Linked DNA regions of Homo sapiens: region 1 is linked to region 2. Evidence: promoter capture Hi-C in 16 types of primary human blood cells and fetal thymus (Javierre and others, 2016). All regions are on one chromosome and are shown on one strand. Each heading gives the region's core, a stretch centred on a gene start or on the middle of the fragment in contact. The rest is flanking DNA. Distances are from core to core; before and after follow the strand shown. Region 1 overlaps ATAD2B (ATPase family AAA domain containing 2B). Region 2 holds the start of FAM228A (family with sequence similarity 228 member A).

What was found. The method cuts DNA at HindIII sites, captures the fragments that hold promoters and counts their contacts. A CHiCAGO score of 5 or more calls a contact.
Region 1: a fragment that was not itself captured here is called in contact with the fragment with the promoter of FAM228A in region 2 in 1 of 17 cell types (total B cells); the score reaches 5.0 in total B cells.

What each region holds. Positions count from the first base shown.
Region 1 is chr2:23,800,197-23,804,299 of GRCh38, reverse strand. All of the region lies in intron 18 of ATAD2B (ATPase family AAA domain containing 2B), which reads left to right. Among named protein-coding and RNA genes, the nearest start is that of ATAD2B, 120 kb to the left of the region's middle. The HindIII fragment of the contact is 1,899 bases long and covers 1,341-3,239 here.
Region 2 is chr2:24,172,530-24,176,546 of GRCh38, reverse strand. FAM228A (family with sequence similarity 228 member A) reads right to left here and starts at 1,494. Exons shown (of 6, transcript NM_001040710.3): 1 at 1,373-1,494; 2 at 974-1,080. The coding sequence starts at 1,066. It overlaps LOC105374328 (a long non-coding RNA gene), which reads left to right and starts at 1,751. Exons shown (of 4, transcript XR_939833.4): 1 at 1,751-2,039. The HindIII fragment of the contact is 4,096 bases long and covers 1-3,147 here.

The DNA.
Region 1 (4,103 bases), core at 1,041-3,540, 370 kb after region 2:
TGTGATTATATGTGTCTTAAGTGCATATTTAAAATTATTTTACATTCATAAATATAACACTATCTTTGCTAACAAATTCGGCAAGAAGAAGCTGTTACATAATGTAAGAGGAATTTTTAAATAATTGGTAAAGGTTGGCAAACCAGGTTATAAGTGGGTACAAAAGCGCTAGGGAAGAGAGTGCATGAGTCAGGTGCTGAAACACTGGAAAGATTGAAAAAGATTCTCTTTTCTTCTGTTCTATATTCCTTTTTGGTTCTTCCTTTTTGCTTCACCTTTCTTGGCAGCTAGTCCTCCTATACTCAGAGGTATCTCTCTAAATCGATGTGTAATATAAGGGTTTAGTCTGTGGTAAGTTATTCTTGCATGTTTTCTCTTTTCCCCAGGCTCTAAAATGCTTAATATAAATTAAGTTTGGTATTTAGTAGTGTAACATGAACATGAAAGGCAGTCTTAAAGGGAATCTTAAATCACTTTTAAAGGGCTGTATGTATATGCGTGGTAAGGTGGGAGACCCTACTTGATATTGTTTATACTGTGGGGATCATGTTTCATTTTATGTCTATCCTTTAAAACATACATGCACAAGAATATACATGACAGAACTTTCTTTTCTCCTTCTGACGGATTCAGCTATTGATTAATATTATCAATTGGAGTGAAAAATGGCAGAGTTAGTGTCAACTATATTAAAAAGCAATGTTTTTCTTATTGTTTCTTAAGATTTAGTGTGCATAAGAATCACCTGAGTGTACTTACACAAATTTCTGATTTTCTGGCTCCACACCCATAGATTGTGATTCACTCAATTTGGAATGAGTCCCAGGAATCTGTACTTTGTAAAAATGCATCTCAGATATTACTATTCTAGGTTTTCAATAGCTCTCACTTTGAGCTATAGTACTTTAGCTGGTCACTAGACATTAGTCCAACATTTATTACTGAAACAAATGCGTGCGCGTGTGTGTGTGTGTGTGTGTGTGTGTACACACATATGTTACTGAGCATTTCACAGTCAGCTTTGGAAGGAGAATGAGAACCCTTGGTATAGCCTGGAAGATTTATAGTTGCCCCCTTAAGTTCACAAGTAATTACTGAGTCCTACAACAAGGCAGGAGATGTTAATATCGGTAGTAAAAGACCTTTGGTATTAACACTCTTAAAAAACAAAACAAAACTATGATTCTCTTTTTCTGACATCCTCAAATATAATTTTTGCCTCCTGTATATTTCTATTGTTGATTTAGAAAAAAGGGACTGATAAGCGTGCTATATTTTATCTTTTTAATTATTAGAGAGGTTTCATTCAATTAATACATTTATATATGGTCTGAAAAGCTTTGGAGTTTATGTACTGTGTGGTGTTGGGAATAATTTCAAAAGGTGAATAAGGTCTTTTCTTGGTGAAAATTTAAATGCATTTCTTTCCCCAGAAAGAAATTGTTATCTGGAATTTCACAGGGGAAATTCTTTTTGGTTGAATAGCATGAAAGTATTAATAATGTACTTACCTGTGTGTATACTTCGGTTGCTCTTGTGTTTGTGCTTATAGATTTCTGGATTTCTCTGTAGCAGTCTGTGTATATTTTGGATGCTTTTGTGTTTGCTCACATGGATATCTGACTTTTTCCATAGCAACACTTCTTAAATTTTTTTTTTTTTTGAGTTGTAGACAAGTTAAATTATCCTGACCTGGAGTGTGTCACATTTACTGAAATTCTTGAAGTCCTTAGGGAATGAAAATATTAGAAAAAGAATTTAAGTGATTTAATTTTCATAAAATGCTAATTTGTGTTACTACCATAGTTCAGAAACTAGTACAGGTGTGTTTTATAACAGGCTGATTTTATGTGCATGTAAAGAAATTTGTACCTTATTTATTGAATCCTGAATCTTTAGAATCCAGACAGTGCCTTCTTTTCACAAGAGATTCTCAATAAATCTTATATGAAGGGAATATAAATAGAGTAAAGGGATAAAAATGGAATAAAGCCACCAGCAATGCACAGATGTTATTTATTTTAATAATTTCTGATAGCATGGCACAAAGAATTAAACTTATTTATTAGTGCCTTTTAATTTTTATAAATATTGAGGATGTTTTAGCTCCCAACATTTTTCTTTTACCTGTGCTTTATAATTTTAATATATTTATAATACTATTAAGTGATTGAGACAAGTTCTGGAAGTTTCTTGATGACACAAATTTGTTTCCCTCTTTTCTATATTGCCCTCTTTAGGCAGGTAAAAGTGATACTGGCTTTGAGCTTTCTGCTTCATTCACATTTGGGTTTAAAATTTTTCTAGTTTTCAATTTCTAAAGGAAATGGCTTGTTGTGGGACTATAAATTCTTAGTTTAAAAATACACTAGATTTTCATGGATGGAACATTTTAATTTCATGGCTAAAATGCTGACTTCAAAGTTTAGCTTTTGAGATGATTAGAACTCTTGTAAGTGCAAGAGTTATATCATGAGTGCTTCCTTGGATGGATACTTCTAACTTCAATGGCCTGATTTTTGCCTTTAATATCTTTAATATTTAGAGGAAGTAGTTTGTGATTTTTTTTTAATAAAGAAAGTTTTAAAAAAATTAGTTATCTAAGGTCCTTATGATGTCTGTGGCAAGAAGGAGGTCAGAAGGAAATGGAGTATAATGTTGTAATAAAGAATCAAAATGAACAGTTCACATATGCTGGTATTTGTTCATTTTACTTGTGCAAGAGTGCTGGTCATGTCAGAGGTATTTTGAAACGGTTGGTTCAGTAATTTGGCCTACTGTCTTTTTTTTTTTCTATAACAGTTTTTCTGTTTTCTACTACACCTTGCACATCCACCAATCCAAGACACCCTATAGGTGAGTATTTTTCTAGTTCTCAAATGGCATCACTTGTTCCCAAGCCAGTTGCCGCTTCATTGAAACTAGGCTATATTTTTCTACTCTGAATTATCTGGTATTTGATTTCACAGAGTGTATTTTACTCCACACTTTAAAAGTTACCAGCAAACTGCTGAAGAGCTGTTTTTATATTACAGAAAAAAATCATAATAGTATTAAACTTTTTTTTTTCCTGTTGCTTATACTATAAGAATTTTTAAATGCTATTCTCAAACTCTGTTCTTTTTGAATTTTTATTACAAAATGGGAATTAGAACAGACTGGTTATAAATCTAAAGAAAATATAAAAGTTTATTTTAATATTCTGAGATAACATAGAATAAGGAATTTAAAAGAAAGCTTGTTTTAATAGTGCTTTTTAGTTTTTGTAGAAATTAAGGATGGTTTTCCTCTAAAGACTTAGGAGAAAAATTACAAAAATATTTCATAGATGTTGGTATTTCATGTAGTTAGGTTAATTCTCAATTCATGTAATTATACACTCATAGATCAGAAAGGCGAAGCCTTTTTATTTTTCCATGTTCATCTTAGACTTGCCTGATTTTTTTCCCCAATAGGTTTTCAAATATAAATTTTTTTTTTAATCAAGAAGGACATTTTCCTAAAGGCTTTGGAAGTAAAAAGCTTCGAGATTTTTTTTTTAATTGGATCACTAGGATATCATGTTCAATTTGTTAATTTTGAGAAGATGAGATGAAAATAAGAAATTTTTTGGAAATGTGGACAAATTTCTAAATTTTTTAATGGGGTCAATACAACATCATGTTCAATTTGAGTTCAATATCATGTTAATTTTGAGACAATTGGAGGAAAAAAAGAAACAGAAAAAAACAAACCTCAACTCTTAGAGCTGGTGATGATTGTATGTAGTTCACCCTTGCAAATACAGTTAAGACACCTGTAGTTAACTTCTGACTCTGTCAAATTGTTATCACTTAACCTTCTGTTGCTTTGCTCATCCTCTTTGATACTTGTTAATGGCTAGATGTTCTCAACACATGTTCCTGGAAAATCTAACCTAGAAGTACTAGAATGAAAGGCAAAATTTCATTTTTTTAAAGGCATGTTTTCCTATCTCTCTCATACCCTGGGCATGTATGTGGTAGCTTGCATGGCTGAATTAAGTGATTGGCTTTGTGAGGTTTCTTAGTAACCTATAGCTGGTTAGTCTTTCATATGATCACCTTTGTTTCCTTGCTGACTCT
Region 2 (4,017 bases), core at 245-2,744:
TAAAGCCTTCTCAGACTTATTTTAAGAAGACAGGCCAGGCAGGGTGGCTCACGCCTGTAATCCTAGTGCTCTGAAGGCCCAGGCAGGAGAATTACTTGAGCCCAGGAGTCTGAGGTTACAGAGAGCTATGATTGGGCCACTGCACCCCAGCCTGGGCTACAGAGCAAGAACCTGTCTCTAAAATATTTTTTTTAATTAAAATGAAGATGGCAACTGAAAAAGTATGTAAAACAATTAAACATGTATCCTGACACTACAATAAAAATTTAGAATCTATTTATTTATTTGGAGAAGCAGAACATATTGACAAGCATCTTGGGAAGTCACCTTCTTAAAGAACATCCTAGTAAGATTGTTAACAAATGTTATGTACATTCTTGAGTCAGATTCTCAAATAATCTTTGTTTAAAGAAATTAAACAGTTTTTGTCTTTGATGGCTCTTCTTTGTGATTTTGCCAGGAAATATAAGGAAAAGGTCATGATTTGCAGCAGCACTTTTCGAAATCCACAGCTTTCTGTGCACACACATAGAAAAATTAAGCATCTCACTGCTCCGACCGCCACTAGGGCAAAAGGGGAAAAAGAAAGGAAATTTCCAAGAGTTTTTCACAGCGAGGCAAATCATAGGATGACACAAAATAATGAAACTTTTTGAGAAAATCATTACCAGACGCTGAAGTATGCAGAATTGACTGGCAAGCCCAGACCTGGCTTCTGCCGGGGAGCTGGGGTGGCTGCCTTCACCCGCCCGGCTGCCCGCCCCCGTCGGTGCGCCAGCCCCCAGGCTGGCGACTGGAAACACTCTTGGCCACACTCTCGGCCAAATCTGAGCCCGAACATTCCCCTTCAACGCCTGCTTTAAAGCAGGCACTGTCACAATCCTGAGAACAGAAGCGAAATTAAGATAAACAGTTCCCAAACTCGAGGGGTCCCCCCGCCAAAATGACGTCTCAAAACGCCACGTTATCTCACCTCCATTAAAGAAACGGACTCGGGCTCCGGCCATTCTCTTAACTTTTCTGGCCTGAAATGTTCATCATAACTCGCAGTTTTGGTGGCAGCCATGGACAGGAGAATCCCTGAGGGATGAAAAGGTAAACTGAGGCTGAGGAAGACGGTTACCGTTGAGAGCCAGGCCTTTGGGCTCAGGGAGTGTTCAAATCCCGCTCGGCCCCTTTCTAAAAGCTGAGCCGAGTCACCCAACAAACTGGGATCCTTGGCGCCCTAGGCGCTTCAACAGGCCCGGCTACCCACTCCCGTGTCGTCCTCGGGCCAAAGCGGGCCTTTCCTCCGGGGCGCGCCCCCCTGGCCCTGCCACAGCCCTCCCTGGGCTCCGCGACCCCCAGGCCCGTAGGCCTCCCCGGGCCCCACCTCAGGCCAGCTCCGGGGGAAGTCGCAGGCCCCGCGGCTCCGTCCCGGTAGGGCTCCCCCGAGGCCGCGTCCTGGAGCGGCGACGGAGAAAGGAGCCCGCGGGCCCGAGCGTCGGGGCGCATGCGCCACGCCAGATCCCGGGGTGCTGCCCCGACGCCAGCTGGACGGTGACGCCGAAGTCCCGGGAAAAGGAAGGGCGCCATTTGATTTCACAGCAAACGGGCGGTGACACCGACTTCCCGGGAAAGGGAAAGGCGCCATTTGATTTCACAGAAAACGGAAACGCAGTGATGAAGCCCAGCGCCTGGCCCTCGCCCTCCCTCCACGTCTGTCTCGGGGGCGCCCTCCCCTCGCAGGAGCCAGGGCACGCGGGCCTTCAACCGCCGAGGCCCCCGCCGCCCTTCTGGACTTTTATCGAGGCATGTACACTAATACGAAAGAGAATTTGCCATTTACCTGTAAGATTGAGGGTGACAACGTAAGAGGAATGGTTTTAAGTGACGCGTCCGGCTCCTTACTCCCACTGAAGGGTGAAGGTGCCACAGGTGGACCTGGTTTGGATTCTGATGTGAAGAAACCGACTTCAAAACATTTGGGCCAATCAGGAAAATGCGAAAACTCTGACTACAAATTTAATGATATCTAGAATTATTGTTAATAGTTTAAGGTATGGTACATTATCACAACCAAGATTTGACATAGCTACAGTCAAGATACAGGATATTATCTTGTATCAGGTGTATCAGGACACCACTACAAGGATTACTCTGTTTTCAGCCAATGTTTCTTCAAGTATGTTTTTTAGTCCTGCCTGTTTCTCTCGTCCTTCTGGGATTCTGATGACATGAATATTATTATAGCCCCCACAGCCACTTAAGCCTCTCTTCTTCCCTCCACCCCCAGTCTATTTTCTCATTTTTTAAGATTGGGTAATTTTTATTGTTCTATCTTCCAGCTCACTGATTCTTTCCTCCATCTTCTCTATTCTACTGTTGAGCTTAACTGCTGAGCTTTTTATTTTGGCTATTGTAATTTTCAGTTCTACAATTTTCATCTGGTTCTTCTTTGTATCTCCTGTTTGCTCAGGATTTTTATTTTTTCATTTGCTTCAAGTGTATCCATATTTGCTCATTGAAGCAGTTTTCTCATAGCAACTTTAAAAGTCTGTGAGCTTATTCTAACATCTTTGTCATCTCAGTGCTGGTCTCTATTGAAGTCTGAACATTTTCAGTTTATATTATGAGACTCTGGATCTTATTTAAACTTTCTGTTTTAGCTGGCTTTCTCCAACACCAATCTAACAGGGTTAATGAGGTTACCACCTCATTACTGCCAGATGGAGATAGGAATCCAGGTGCCCCAGTTGGCCTTCATTGACACTTGAGGGGCCAAAGTTCCTCATTACTGCTGTGTAGACCATGATTTAGAGATTCTAGTCAGGCTAACTGAGAGACCATTCAGCAAATTACTTCCTTATATGGTATAATCTTCTCGAGAAAAGGAGCTGAATCTATCTCATCTTTACATCTTTCTCATAACATGGGACCATCTATGACTGACCCAAATAGCAGGCGAACAGAAAATTCCTGTTGAGTAGACGACATACACAGAAAAGTATAATATACTGATGGCTTAAACTACATTAAGTATAAGCAAAAGGTGATACAAAATAGGATTTTTAATTTCTACCTAGCTTCTTCCTTACTTCATTTGAAAATAAAAGTTTCCCTGATTTACTGAATCAACTTATTTCAATCTCATATGATTTAAAAGCTTACCTGAGCATTTGTCTCTTTACTTGATGTTCCCTGGCAATGTCGCCTTTTTTACATGGTGAAAATAACTGTTAAGGATTTGAAAGATTCTCCTTTCAATAGGTAGTGCTTCACTGAGTCTTCACCTAGGCTCTTGCTGCAGGCTCTGTGTCTCTTTCTACATACCACAACTAAGTCAGTTAATCTCATAGTATTAAAATCTTTTGTTACTGTTTCTCCCACTAACTTTAGGGCAGAGAGCCTATGTTGGCTCATCCTTATATCCCCAGAACCTGGCAGAGCACCTGGGAAAAACAGGCACTTAAATACTTACTAAGTGAATGATGAATAAATAAATGAATGAGACATAATCCCAACATCTACACAAAATGAAATTTCAATGTCAACATATGAAAAAAACATTTAAGAGACTGAAGACTTGTCTACCAGGAGAGCATCAAGCCTTTTGAAGCTTTGCAGTCGGCCTCTGGTTGCCATTTTGGCATAGCTAGTATTTTTAGTCATTTATAACTGTAATAGAGAAAAGCATTTCTATCCAAAAAGTCTCTTTAAATCAAAAAGTCTAGGCCAGTCATGGTGGCTCATGCATGTAATCCCAGCACTTTGGGAGGCCGAGGTAGGAGGATCGCTTGAGGCCAGGTGTTCAAGACCAGCCTGGGCAACACAATGGGACCGCGTCTCTACAAAACGTTTAAAAATTAGCTGGGCATGGTGGCAGGCACCTGTAGTCCCAGCTACTCAGGAAGCTGAGGTGGGAGGATCACTTGAGTCCGGGAGGTTGAGGCTGAAGCAAGCCATGCTTGTATCCACTCCAGCTGGGAGACAGAACAAGACCTTGTCCCAGAAAACAAAACAAAAGTCTCAATGTTT